2 separate regions of the Homo sapiens genome follow, and region 2 is linked to region 1. The links are contacts of gene promoters, found by promoter capture Hi-C in human tissues and cell types (Jung and others, 2019). All regions are on one chromosome and are shown on one strand. Each heading gives the region's core, a stretch centred on a gene start or on the middle of the fragment in contact. The rest is flanking DNA. Distances are from core to core; before and after follow the strand shown.

Region 1 (7,240 bases), core at 2,026-4,525:
TGAGCCGAGATCACACCGCTGCACTCCAGCCTGAGCGACAGAATGAAACTCTCTCAATAAGTAAATAAATAAATCAAATAAAGTGAGGATTGAACAATTGAAGGGTCACTGATAATCACTGTAAGGATTTAGCGCCAGGGCTTGGCAGTACTCAGGTGAGTAAACGTTAGTTATTGCTAATATTATTCATTTATCTTATTATTGTTATAATTGAGTTAGTTCTGTGTTCTGATCCATGAGTGAATTGGCCTCCTGGAAGCTGCCCTCAAATCCCTCCTCTTTTACACAGTGATTGATGGTCCATGTCGCCTCCTTGTAGTTACAGATTAATAATAGGCCCTCCTCCTGGAAACAGGCCAAACGCCAAACCCCATGCAAGCTGGCCTGGAGAAAGCACTTCTGAAACTTCATCACCAGCAGGCAGCTAGACGACTGTTGAATGGGAGGGGGGGTGGTTTTGAAGGGTGGAATGGTGACAGAATTAGTCACCAAGTAAACAAGCAACACCTTCGATCAATGCAATGGAATGTAGGTAACCCAGGGGCCCTCCTCACTGCTCAGCTGAGGGTGACGCCAACATGGCCAGGCTGGCACACCCAGCAGAACCAGCCCTCTGCCCCCAACATCAGTAAAGACCTTGCAGGAGGAAAGAACAACCCCGCTTTGCCTGCCCCACAGTCCTGCAGCTCCATGTGTGTGCCCGCACAGTGCTAGGAACACGGCAGCTATTATCAGGAGTGCCAGGTACAGTGCTACAGGTTGCCTCCTGTACAAGGGGACACAGGGAACTGAAATCCAGTCCTCACTGAACTGCCCAAGCCCTGATTCCTGGTATGGGACTTTGTGGGTCCAGGGGCAGGGGTGCCTTGATCAAAATCACCTTGGATGTTTTAGGGCTGCTTGGTGATTGATGTTTTGCTTTCGGAGTACTTAATTATGTTTGCACAAACGGATGGTAATCCTAAAAATCTTAGAGCTCGCTCTCATAGTCTTATTATTGCACCAAACATTGTTAAGTGCATGATAATCGCAGGTAATTTTAATTGGAGGCTTACTATGTGCCAGGCAGCACCAGGGTGAGCATAGCAGGACACAAAATATAGGAAGGCAACCATCTCTGGTGCAGAATCGGCAGCAGAGAGTGAGCGCCTCCCTGCATTTTATCCCCCAGGTGCTCACTGGCTTCACCCTTGCCCTGACCCTGGTGCCAGGCACTTCACACACATTGTCTCCTTTTCCCTTGCAGAGTCCCATTATTCCCTGATTGCACAGATAAAGAAACCAAGGCTGAGCAATGCCATCCCCTCATCTCACGAACGTCACCTCCATGAGGGTAGGCACCTTACTAGTCCTACTTGCCCAAGAGTAGCAGTCAGAAAGCTACGGGGAGGCACACCTGGGGTTTGAACCTGGGTCCACGTGACTCAGGCACTCAAATCCTGAACTGCTTCAGGGCAGGGCACTTGGCTTGAAGAGAAGCTGCAGACACAGAGACAATCAAGTCACATCTAATACTCCAGCAGGACAGATGAGCCTGCAAGGTGCAAAGGTACCCCCGCCCCCAACCCAAAGCCTTTTTCAATTCCTCTCCCTCCACATCTCTTGTCATGGTAAAGCAGGCAGAATCCATGGGCTTTAACGGGCCCATTGCTTTTCCCAAAGCTCATGCCTTTTTCCTAAAAACAAAACCCTTCTGGGTTCCAGAACTCTTTGGAAAAAAAGAATCTTCTGTGATTTGGGACATTGGTTTGTTCCCCCACCCTCACTTAAATGAGAAACTACTTTAGCATGCCCCGCCCCGTCTGTTGTCTTTATTTAGGAGGAAGCACCCTCTACATACCCTGAGTATATACACCCAGGGCCTGAAGCTGCTGTGATCAGCTCAGGATCCCCAGGAGGCTGAGGCGGATCAGGCCCTGGACTCCGGGGGAACAATGTAAGGGACACCAAAAAGCTCAGCCATGGAGATGAATAGTATTTTAACATGAAATTTGTGAAAATCAAAATTACCGCTGTTCCTGATCTTATCTTTCTGTAACATGTTCATAGTTTGTTCATCACGGGTGTCTTGCCATTAATTCTGACTTTTAAAAATGTTGTGTTAACATACCGTTTATCTCCATGACTGAGTTTTTTGGCATCCCTTACATTTCGTGCCCAAGGTGAGAGTCTCACTGGCTGCACCCTCATCCCAGGCCCGACTGGACTCCAGTTCCACAGCATCCTTTCCATGAGACCTGGAACCAGATGCAGCTCCCTCTTCACCCAGCTTCATGTTCCTAGTTGTAAAATGGAGACGATGGTAACAGCGAAAACAAGAACCACAGCTAAGAGTTACTAAGTGCACAGGTATTTACGGGCAGTAGAGTCCTCTCAGCCCTTTGATCTCAGTACTGTTATTAGGTTCACTTTACAGATGAGGAAACTGAGGCCCAGAGGGCTGAGGGAACCTGCTCCAGGGCACCCAGCCAGCCCAGGGTGGAGCTGGGGCTGGCATCTGGCGGTGTGGCTGCAGCGCACCCGCATTCTAATCGCAATGACTCTTCCAGGCAGGAAACTGGTTCAGAGGGAGATGTAAACAGCAGGGGTCCTGAAGCCAGGATTTGAATCAGCAGCTGCCTCATAGGGTGGTCTTGAGCGTTAAATAAGATTCACAAAAGGCACTCCACAAGTCCTTTTTCTTGTCCTCCCACTTCTTTAGGCAATGCCTGAGGTGAAGGCTCAGATTCCACTCGGCTATGGGGCATTCTTGCCCTGACGGATCCCCAAATCACACAGCCTATCCCTCCATCCAGTGACTTCTCCCCATGTCCTGTGCTTGAAATGACCCTCAATAGTTCCACCAAATAGGAGTTATTTATGTGGCTATGCGCCTAACACTGACCACATTGTCATTTGCTCCTTGTAAAACTAAAAACTTTGAGATGAGTGCTATCTTTGGGTCCATTTCACAGATAGTGGAACTGAGGCTTACACATATCCAAGGCCACACAGTGAACAGAAGGCAGAGCTGGGATCAAACTTGACCCTGTCTGACCCCTGGCCTCTATATGACACCGTCTACCACAAACAGCAAACCCTCCAGCCATGCCTAAAGGATCTGAAAGCAGTTACCTGCTGAGCCCCTGTGGGAGTATCTTCAGTCCCCTCGTGTCACCCGGAGCTGCTCCTGCACAGGGTCCTGGGTCTCCAGTGCGTGCTGCCCAGTGCCTGGCTGTCGGTGGAGCCTGGCTCCCTGCACTTTGCTTCCTTGTGCAGAGCCTGCTGGCTGAATACACAGAGCAGGGCAAACACAAGCCTGGGTGGAGTCCTCCCTTCTCCCCGGACCATCCTGCAGAAACAGGTTCTCTTCCTGATGTGGGGCTGCCCTCCCAACTCCAATAAAAACTGAGCACCTGACTCCTCTCGCATTAATGCCTCCCTGGCACCCCAAGTATTCTACCCAGTGCCCCTCACCTACTGAGGCTGCCGGGTTGACCTGGGGAAGCAGTTTCCTTCCCCAGTAACCGTAGGTCATGGTCAGAGCAGGGAAAACACGTTCTGTGAGATTTTGTAGTTCTGTCTGCTGACTTCAGAACACCACCTCCACCACCACCTAACCACCTAATTGGAAGGAAATAGCTTCTCATCCACTCAACTACCCCTAGTCATGTAAACCTTATTCCCAAAGGGGTTTGGACACCAGAAATCAGGTAACCTGAGGGTGGTTTATTGCTCTGGAGACATACCATGATGTTGGAAAGGGCATTCTTTTTCTTTGCAGGCCAGAAATTCGACAGGCTATGCAATTTATTTAATTCAAGCAAGGATGTTGTTTAAAGTGTCTTACAAGGACATATACAATAGATTATGAGAGCATGAAATAACATGTAACAAAAGAAGATTGAAGAACAAAATTTGGAACATCAAATGAGAACAGGATCAAAAATAAATGCTCTTGTTGATTTACAGACTTGCTATGAAGGGTTTGCAGATATGGCTTTGAGCTTCCTAACAGCCAATGCAAGAAAGGAAACTTGATAAGTTACACTACTTAGTGCTCTGGAGAAGACATTCAAGAGAATTGCGACCAATAATTATTGTGGTTTTATTCAACAGTATACTCAGCTTAACCCCTATCATGAATACTTGTCAAGCACCAGGCTATATATATAAGCCAGAGTTTAAAGAGGTGAGTAAAAGATGCTGGGTCTCTACCCTTCTTGCACTCAGTGTCATTGGACATAGAATCCTGTAAATATAAACATAGAATTACAGGGTGTGATTCTCATTATAAAAGAAAAGCCAAGGCAGCTAAGGGAGAGAAATAGAGAGAGCTGGGGAAGGCCTCTTTCAGAAATCAACATTTAAGAAAAAAAATACTATTTAAATAAATGCTGAATACACAACCAGGCACACCGTAATTAGGGTTGTAAAGTCGATTCCAGCTCAGCACTGTACATGTCAATCTGGAATGTAGTAAACCCAATTATTAAGCAGCTGCCATGCACACGCTCTGTGCTGACCCAAGCCTGGAGGCTCAGGAGCTTGAGCTCTGGCCCTGGGTTGAGACAGACAAGGGCTCGGATCTTGATTCTTACTGATCGGCTGTGGAATTATGAGCAAGCTACTGTACTTCCCTAAGTCTCTGTCAGCCCCCTCAGCTGTGTGCTCCTTTGTGTTTATTTTGCATCTATTCTTGTATCCCCAACTCCTGGCACCCTGCAAAACGAGGATGGGGATCCCTCTATGATAGAGTAGGTACTCTGCAACTCCTGGCTGATTGGACTTGTTCATTCTTTTTTTTTTTTTTTTTAAGACGGAGTCTTGCTTTGTCATCCAGACTGGAGTGCAGTGGTGTTATCTCGGCTCACTGCAACCTCTGCCTCCCAGGTTCAAGCAATTCTGTTGCCTCAGCCTCCTAAGTAGCTGGGACTACAGGTGTGCACCACCATGCCTGGCTAATTTTTGTATTTTTAGTAGAGGTGGGGTTTCTCCATGTTGGCCAGGCTGGTCTGGAACTCCTGACCTCAAGTGATCCACCCGCCTCAGTCTCCCAAAGTGCTGGGATTATAGGCGTGAGCTAACACTCCCCATTGTCTTGCTCTCTTTTAAATTATACATGGCAGTAACTGCCATTTGGATGGCATTAGTCTTTGCAAAGCCTTTTGTGTTTATCCGTCCATTTCATTTATGTCCACAGTGAAATTAAGATCTTTTGCTCCCATTTTACAGAAGAAAAACATAAGGTTTAGGGATATGAGTGATTTAGGAGATTAAGAAAAATCATTCAGGTGGGGGCACTCAGCAGTGTGTCTGGCAAAACGTAGACCATCACCAAGCATCAGCTGGTGTAGTCAAGGGTGTTGATGAAGGATCTGGCAAACTGTAGACCATCACCAAGGATCAGCTGGTGTAGTCAGGAGTGGTGATGAAGGGTCTGGCAAACTGTAGACCATCACCAAAGATCAGCTGGTGTAGTCAGGAGTGGTGATGAAGGATCTGGCAAACTGTAGATCATCACCAAGGATCAGCTGGTGTAGTCAGGAGTGGTGATGAAGGGTCTGGCAAACTGTAGACCATCATCAAGCATCAGCTGGTGTAGTCAGGAGTGGTGATGAAGGATCTGGCAAACTGTAGATCATCACCAAGGATCAGCTGGTGTAGTCAGGAGTGGTGATGAAGGGTCTGGCAAACTGTAGACCATCACCAAGCATCAGCTGGTGTAGTCAGGAGTGGTGATGAAGGATCTGGCAAACTGTAGATCATTACCAAGGATCAGCTGGTGTAGTCAGGAGTGGTGATGAAGGGTCTGGCAAACTGTAGACCATCACCAAGCATCAGCTGGTGTAGTCAGGAGTGGTGATGAAGGGTCTGGCAAACTGTAGACCATCACCAAGCATCAGCTGGTGTAGTCAGGAGTGGTGATGAAGGGTCTGGCAAACTGTAGACCATCACCAAGCATCAGCTGGTGTAGTCAGGAGTGGTGATGAGGCAGGACCGGCTACATAATCTGCTGAACCCAGTGCAAAACAAAAACGATGAGCCCTTTGTTCTAAAAGCAGGGAAAAGTACCGTTAAAGGTATGAAACATAAAGCTGTTTTCTCTCCTTCCTGGTCTCTTTCTCTACCTGTCATGTATTTTACTTATTATTTGAAGTCATTCTAAGGGAAGAAAAAATAAAAATGTAAGTGATCAGCGTGAGTTTTGCCATCCGTCTTTAGATCAAGCCATGCTGGTTTGAAATGCAATGAACTCGAGGGCAGAATCACCAAAATCATACGACTTGTATTTTGTAGTTAGTTACGGGGCCCCCGTAGTCTGTTCTCACTAAAACAGTGTAAACGCTGCATAGAAGTCATCATTCAACTGTTTTTACTCTACCTCTGGATACTCACCCATTCTACTAATGCTCTCTATCTTCAGTTTATTGATGAATAAGGAAAAATCAAAAGAAAAAGAAACTCTAAGCTGCCCTATATTTCTGTCTTGCTATGTTATCATTTTCAGCACAAGTGGTTGGCCCTTACAGGGAGGTAACCTGGGTAAGAAAGGCTAGGATAGGATTCTTTTGTTGTTTGTGTTTCTTAGAATGTGCTGCCTTTTTTCTGTATTGAAGATAATTTCTGATTTGCGTGGAAAGCCTGGACTCTTGGGGTGTCAGTGCCTCCACATACTCAATTGCAGCTGTAACTCACATGTGTTTTACTTGCTTTGAGGCTTACTGAATAGTCATGAACTCACTGGCATTCTCTGCTCATGGGCATCATGGATGTTATATGTGAATAGGTGGCAATGAACAGTAGACTTGCATATTGCTTGTATCTCATGACTATGCTTCATTGTCTCATCAGATTTTACTTACTCAACCCAAGTTCAAAGATAACACTACAACTGACCCTTGAACCACAAGGGTTTGAACTGCATGAGTCCACTTAGACATGGATTTTTTCCCTTCTTCTGCCACCCCTGAGACAACAGGACCAACCCCTCTTCTTCCTCCTCTTCCTCAGCCTATGCAATGTGAAGATGACAAGGAAGAAAACCTTTATGATGATCCATGTCTACTTAATGAATAGTAAATATATTTTCTCTTCCTTATGATGTTTCTTAGAATGCGTTGTCTTTTTAATGTTCTTAATACCATTTTCTTTTCTCTAGCTTACTTTATTGTAAGAATGCAATATACAAATGTAATACATATAACATAGAAAACGTGTTAATACATAAAACATAGAAAACATGTTTATGTTATTAGTA
Region 2 (7,392 bases), core at 1-2,500, 490 kb before region 1:
CAACAGCCTCCCTAAATCTAAAGACTATAAGAACTGTGAAAATTAAGATGAAAAAATTAAAACACTTTAGTAAACTATTTTAAATCCAGTGTATACAAAACAATTTAAAATTTGTTTCATATACAAACAAATCTGCATCCAAGAAATCTAAGTGCCCAAACACCCCCTTAGAGATTTTGCACATACAGAGGTCAACAAAATGAGCACAGAAATACAGAAACTTTTCCTAAAATCCCCATTCAAGAAATACTTAACACCTCAGAATGGTCACTCATCTTGGCCAGGGGAACCCTGATATATTTTGGTTCACTGGATATTCGAAACCTCAATCCACTGTTCAAATCCCAGCTTGCTTTCAACGACTTTCTGCCTTCAACAAGCACTGGGTGGGGCTTCCTAGTCCAAACAACAAATAGGGAAAGACATACACAAAGCTCCTTTGTGAATGTATAGATTTAAAATAAAATCCTCAACAGGGCTGTTTCAACATGGCTTAGTCTTTCATCAGAAAATGGGCCCTCTCATTTTTTTAATCTACCTTTCACATCATGCACTGGCCAGGTGGAAAATTACTTTATTTAGCTCTGCTGCTTCTGGTTTAGAAGCTAATTTTCACTCCTGGAGAAGAATTAACTTCTAAAGCCAATACCCTCTGCCTTTATGGCAAACATTGGATAGGCATTGTTTTTAAATAGTCCCAACTACTTAAAACTTAAGTCAGTTAATTCCACCCAAGAAAACCAAAAGGCATGCAAACTACTCCCAGCAAAGTAACCTTAAAAAACAAAAGCATACTTTACTTTCCTCCCTCTCTCTACTTCCTTAAAGAGCAAGGAAGGCCTGCAGGCTCAGAGAAGCCAAGGAAACATCTCCTCCTTTACACTCCGAAATAGAAATTCTCATACTCCTTGTTATCTTTAGTTTTGAATAAACTAGATCTTTAACATTAAGCTTTTCTAAATAAGACTGCAGATCAAGGATTAGGGTAAAGGAAAGAATGTCCTGAAGTCTTTTCTTTGTTGCTATCACAATGGAGGATCAACACATGGGCTGGTGACCAGCTTGGTGTGATATAATAGAACACTCCAGAGACCCGAGTTCTAGTCACAACCTTCAAGTTGTCACTGCCACATACCACATCTTTCTATTATCTATTTAACGCAGTTGGTTAAACTATAGGATGGCCTTTACAGTTCCAATATTCTGTGGTTCTGGGGATAGAGCTACACATTGAAAAGAATATTCAATTACTCTGCTAATCAGAATGTGAAGTGACTTAGGTTTCTATACATAGAAGCTTAAGTTTCATTTGCTTATTCAACAAGTATTTACTGAATGCTAGCGTCCCAGGCAAGGTTTTAACTGAATAACAGCACATACCCTAGAAAAACAGTTATCAAATTCTGACAACGCTGTTTTCCCTGGCCAAGAACAAAGACTCATTTATTTGAGGTCCTTCCTACTTTTAGATGCTAAAATACGCTTATTTTTTAAAAAATCAAATAGTGGCAATAGGCAATAGTGGAGTTTTTTGGTTTTTTTTTTAATGTCCTTATTTAGCAAAATCAAAGTTCAGTGAGAATTTGAAAAAAAAAAAAAAAAAAAAAAACTAAGTTAGTCCCTATGTCAGCTCTCAACATTATTACTGTATTTTAGAAACTTGACTAATACGTGAAACTGTAATTTTGGGGAACTCCACTTCTCTACTGACATCCTTTAGAAAAAGAGACACCAGCTCTACAGTCTCGGGATTAGAAATATGATGTGAGGACGGGTATAGTGGCTCACACCTATACTCCCAATGCTTTGGGAAGCCGAAGTGGGTGGATCACATGAGGCCAGGAGTTGGAGACCAGCCTGGCCAACATGGTGAAACCCCTTATCTGCTAAAAATACAAAAATTAGCTGGGCATGGTAATACACACCTGTAATCCCAGCTATTTGGGAATCACTTGAACCCAGGAGGTGGAGGTTGCAGTGAGCCAAGATCGCACCACTGGTCCAGCCTGGGCAACAGAGCAAGTCTCCCCTCTCCGCCCAAAAAAATAAGAAATATGATGGAGTGTTATTTCCCACTCAGGGAAACAGCATAACTTAGTTACTGAAAATATTTATTAATAGAAAGATGTTTTGGTTCCAATTCTCAATTATCTGGGTTAAAGAAGTTACCATCACTCTCCACACAAGACCTTGTAGGATTATTTCACTGCGGTGAAGGACAATGAAGGAGGTTCAGTGGGAAACGATCTTAGGACAGAGGAAGCTTCCACTTTGCCTGGGAGGGTGAACAGCCTGGGAGACCTGGAGATGAGGGCAGGCATTCTAGGCCAAGGGGTCTTCTTGTGTGGTCAGATGGGGAAGGAAACCCTCCTGGCAAAACAGCAGAATTCTTTCTCCAGGAAAGCTTCTGAGACTGACTCTAATAGTCAATTGTGACCAACTGTCCTAGGCTCCCAGGGCCACAGCAATCCTTAGGCACCCCAAATGTGCCATCCCTGACTACCCAGCACACCCTACCCCCCCAAAGTATTGTGACAGCTCAAGGATGACTTCCTCTGAAAACCTCTGTCCAGATCTAAAACCATCCTGTTTGTTTGCTTGTAACTGTCTTTTTCTAAAAGTAACACCTCAGGATGGAGACTGTTGCCTTGTCCACTGCTGCCCCCAATGCCTGGAACAAGGTGCCTGACACAGGATTAGGCACTCGACACATAGCTGGTGAATAAATGTCACGGAATTAGCACACGTGTAGAATCAGTACACACGTTTGGCCACAGTCACTAACCGTAACTGATCAGAAATTAAAATTAACTTGCATGTTCATCAAAACTTCTACATGGCTATCAGCGACTGCCATCTAATTGCCATTCTGCAACTTCAAGAGTACAATTTCAAGAGCGTAATAAAAAAAATCGTATTTAATCACACCATAAAGTTGATCAGCACAAGCAAAAAAAAAACTGCACTATTTGGATTTATACTCACTCTCCTTATGACCCTCCAAAACAAAAATGCTGGGCATCCTAGGGCTATCTCTGACAGCAAATGCCTTCAGCTCTTGACTTAGAAACTGCTAACACACTAGACAAAACACTTCCTTAAACTCTAAGACAATGAATAATACTTTAAACCAGGTTTACATCCCTTAAAACCAATTTGCTCATCAGTAATCGTTAAAGTGGTTGTAACAATAAAGACGTTAATAACAGAATACAGCAAAATAGAAATTCTAATCTACTAACAGCAAATCACCGTTCCAATTGAATGGGGTGTGTGCACAAACACAAGCCTTCCCAGAAGCCTCCAGCTCTCCACACTCCTGCACACAGAAGGCAGCAGTAAACCGATGGCACTGCTGATAAAGTAAATTGTCTTTCTTGACAAAGAACTGGAGGAGAAAAGCAGGATATTATAATCCAACACTATAATCTAAATGCTTCTAGCTTGCAAGAAAGTGAGCGTTATGAACACGCTAAGCTTACTGAAAAGTACTTCACAAAAATGTTTTCCAATGTTTAAAAACATTTTAAAATCTTTACTCAGGTAAACGACAGAACTTAACTCATATACCCCCTAACACCTAAGGCAAGTGGGCTATTGAGTATAGCCATATTTTGAAAGAAACTTCTATTGGGATTATTTCAGTAGATACTTTTAAAATTTACCAGAGCGTAATCTTTGAAATCCAGTAGGAACCATATTGCTAGAAAAGGCTGGAATAGAAGTGTGATGTTCTTTAGGTCACTAATTACACACTGATTTGTGACTAAAGCTACCATGAATTCTACCACTACCTGTAGATCTTGAAATCAGCAAATAGGACACATTCTACACTGCTTAATAAAAAGCACAGTAATCTGTGCTTAAGTACAACTAACTAGGTACAACAGCCACTTTGCTGACAATTACTGTAACTTGGGAATATTTTTCTTTACATCCTGATGTACTCAAACTGTTAACTTTTAGAAACAGCACAGCCTCTGTTTCTTCTGATTAACAGGTTATCTTACATTGTTGATATGGAATATGCATCTACCATAATACAGCTTTGAATAAGGTATTCAAAGTCCTCAAAAACACAGAAAAATTATATTTATACACAATTTGTCATACTGCTAACAAAGCTACTTTTTCCCAAGTTACTGAGGTGTCCAAATAAGGAGTTATTAAAAAATTCAACTTAAATTGCTATTCTCTGGCCAATGCATTTGTACCCTGAAAACTACAAAATTATCTCCAAGACCTGGCTAGAAGTTTACATTTTCTCTGAAAGTTTTTCCTCTGTCTTTTACGCACAGTATTTTTTCTTAATCTGACAAGTGGAGAAAACTCTGCATAGCCATCTACTAACAATCAAAAAGCTACAGGTTTTTTTATTTTTTATTTTTAATGCTCTAAATTCTTCAACACTGTTTCAAGGAAATTACTAGGGGTCACACCCATGAGGCTAAATGGTCAACCCAACTTTCCTAATTTAGCTGTGGAAAGATGCTTCCAAGTTAAGCGAAAGAAAAAGATTGGAATATTCAAAGTTTAAGGTTACAACCTAAACTCTTCAACTTGGGAAGCTTGTAAAGGAAATAATTTCATTTTGCTGAAATTGTTCATAAATTACCAATTTTAAATAGGATTAGAGACCAAAGTACTATAAAAATATAATCATATAGCATATTTGAGTGTCATTAACTAGAAACTGCCTGAATTCATCTTAAATCAGTTAAGGTCAGTTAAGGGATCTTAGTAAGAACTTAAAGTATAACATACTAGTTTTAGTTTCAATATTAACAGATACTGTCATCTGCAAAGTGGTTTTTAAAAACATCCTGATCTGAAAAAAAGTTATAATATAAGGAAAGTGAATTTTTAAAAACTTTAATTAAGCAAGATTAAGCATTGCTATCCGTTTCTCCTATTACTACTACTTAACCAGTACAACCTTAAATATCTGTAAAAATTTGACAGGCCTAACTGCACCAAAAAAAAAAGATTTCAGCAAATTAATTAACTGTTAATAAACTGTTCTATCTTTACCTGCACTAACTCTCTGTAATGAAAACACTGAACGTGTGTATACACACATCTATCTATATATATATATATATATATATATATATATACACACACACACACAACTATGCCCACTACTAGACCACTACACCATACCACTTCTTCCAATGAGCGCTCTCAATTAAACACAATTCAAGTAACCTAGTTAAATACAAGCTTAGGCAATGCCTTTTAAGGCATAAGATCGTTCTTCTGCAAGATTTAAATATTCCCCTCCCCATCCTATCTTTTGCTGACTACATACTAAAGTTGTATATCTGGCTCTTTCCAGTCACCTGTTTGCTTTCAAAATCAAGGGGAAAAGTCTCCTTTCAATTAGTAATACAATCATTGTTCAGTAGATTTATAAACTGAAGAAAAACTCTATATTGATTACAAAAGAAACAAAAACACTTCAGTATAACTGAGATGCTTTGTTATCCTTATTTGATAGAGGTAGAAGTAAAAGTAACTATTACTCCTAACGCTGATTCAAGAAATGTCTAGAGTCTACATTTCCAGTCCACTTAACTACATTTTAAATTCCAAAGGTTTCCAGACACACCAGAAAATAATGGAACACCAATACAGAAACACTACACGAGTCTGTTAAAAACCTAGCTTCTGAGTCTGGGGGAGCTTTTCTATAGGAAGTACAGTCATGTGGAGGTCAGAAACAAGTTTTGTAAAGCTTAATAAGAACAAAGGCTAAGTAAGGAATCCAACTAACTCTCTCATACAACTTCTTCAGCTGTCTTTTCAGGTTTAGTAATTTTATTTCTCAACTTTATCATAAAATTACCAAACTGTCCCCAAATTTCCAGTAACTCAATTATGCTGATACCCTGGACAGGAAGTAATGGAGATGTTCAGAACAGTCAGTCAACAAATGTTCAAATGGAAAGCATTCCAACGTTAAATATAAAAGGGTAATATGTGGCGGCAGCTGGCTAGCGGGGGCTTCCCCCCTATTTATCTGGAAGATAGATGTGTACAAGAATTGAGCATGTCATCGTGAGCTGCAGATTTTAGGAAAGAATGGTCCCTGTTCTTCCACTTCCTTAAAGTCAGATTTCTATCTCTCCTCGTGGTCTAAATTCAAAAACCTTTGCCCCAGATACCACTGCAAATTTGTCTGTTATTACTGGTTGGGGAAAAATAACCCAGTTCACCTTACTCCAAAAACATGAGCATTTCAGAAAAGTTTTTATACTGCCTCTAAAATGAGGCCATTAAGTGATATTCAATAATCAGGCTTCCTTCACCCGAATTTAAGAAATTTCCTGCCGTCTTTGTGTAATACATTTTTTTTTTCTTCCATGTGCGTTTAAATTTTAACACCCCTCCCCCCCGCAGAATCTGGAGAAGAGGTGTGCGGATCAAGACCCCCCCGCCCGCCATTGTCTCAAGTTTAATTTACATGCTGTAACCAAACCCTTCCCTCTTTAGAATATTTAACAAGATTGAGATTCCTTTAATTCCATGTTGGTAGCTGTTCTGTAAATACCTTTCAGGTTTTTATTTTTTAACATCCCAGTAATCTAAAAACTATTCTGTTTTTAGATTTCAATTGTAGTAACTGGATTTAAAATCTTATTACATTTATTTTATTAGTGGAATACTCAGTTTATGCAACTGTCTCATGTTTTTCATTCCTACTTTCTAATTCTAAGGCTTGAAAACAGCCATTGCTCAGTCCTTCAGCTTCACCTTCCCAATTCATTCATTAAACATTCCGCTCAGGGATTAAACTGAAATGGGAAATTAGGAAGGAACGATTTAAAACAAATCATACCCAGCAACCTCAAAATCTATAACATACAGGCCATATGGGCATACAGGAGATGGGACAATTTGAATTTTTTTTTTAAGCAAATGGAAACAAAGCTTCATATAAAACATAAAAAGGGTCCAATCATTTACTTTCAAATAGAGTCAGCTAAAAGTAGCTCCTTTTTTAAAGTGGCATCTTTCAGGCAGTCAAGAGTCATTAAAACTACTCCAAAGTTCTTATCAACCAATATCATGTTTGTGACAACTGTGAGAAAAGAATGTAATTTTATAAAGTGGGAAAACAGCACATCTTTTGGGACCCCTGAGGCTCTAATCAGGCATCTCAGAATTAAGAGTGCTCCAGGGTTGGGAAATGGCTACCCTGCTGTGGCAAAAACATGCCATTTCATAATAAATGTTGTTAAGAGAGAAAAAAGTGATTAGCATGTATCTGCAATGAGGAGATAGAAGGACTTAGTCATTGCCAGGCCATTATATTCCTTAATTATTTCATCAGTTTATAAGTGACTTGATGATTAAGTCTTATTTTCAGATTTCCTCCAAAACAAGTCC

What was found. The method cuts DNA at HindIII sites, captures the fragments that hold promoters and counts their contacts. A contact is called where the count stands out against the background at its distance.
Region 2: a fragment that was not itself captured here is called in contact with the fragment with the promoter of BCAS1 in region 1 in 1 of the 25 tissues and cell types used here (hippocampus).

Annotation. Positions count from the first base shown.
Region 1 is chr20:54,067,319-54,074,558 of GRCh38, forward strand. BCAS1 (brain enriched myelin associated protein 1) reads right to left here and starts at 3,276. Exons shown (of 13, transcript NM_001366298.2): 1 at 3,115-3,276. It overlaps MIR4756 (microRNA 4756), which reads right to left and starts at 1,167; the gene lies at 1,090-1,167. RefSeq lists an enhancer at 1,995-2,869. The HindIII fragment of the contact is 15,029 bases long and covers 1-7,240 here.
Region 2 is chr20:53,583,510-53,590,901 of GRCh38, forward strand. The region is part of intron 1 of ZNF217 (zinc finger protein 217); the gene reads right to left. Among named protein-coding and RNA genes, the nearest start is that of ZNF217, 6.6 kb to the right of the region's middle. The HindIII fragment of the contact is 3,380 bases long and covers 1-2,940 here.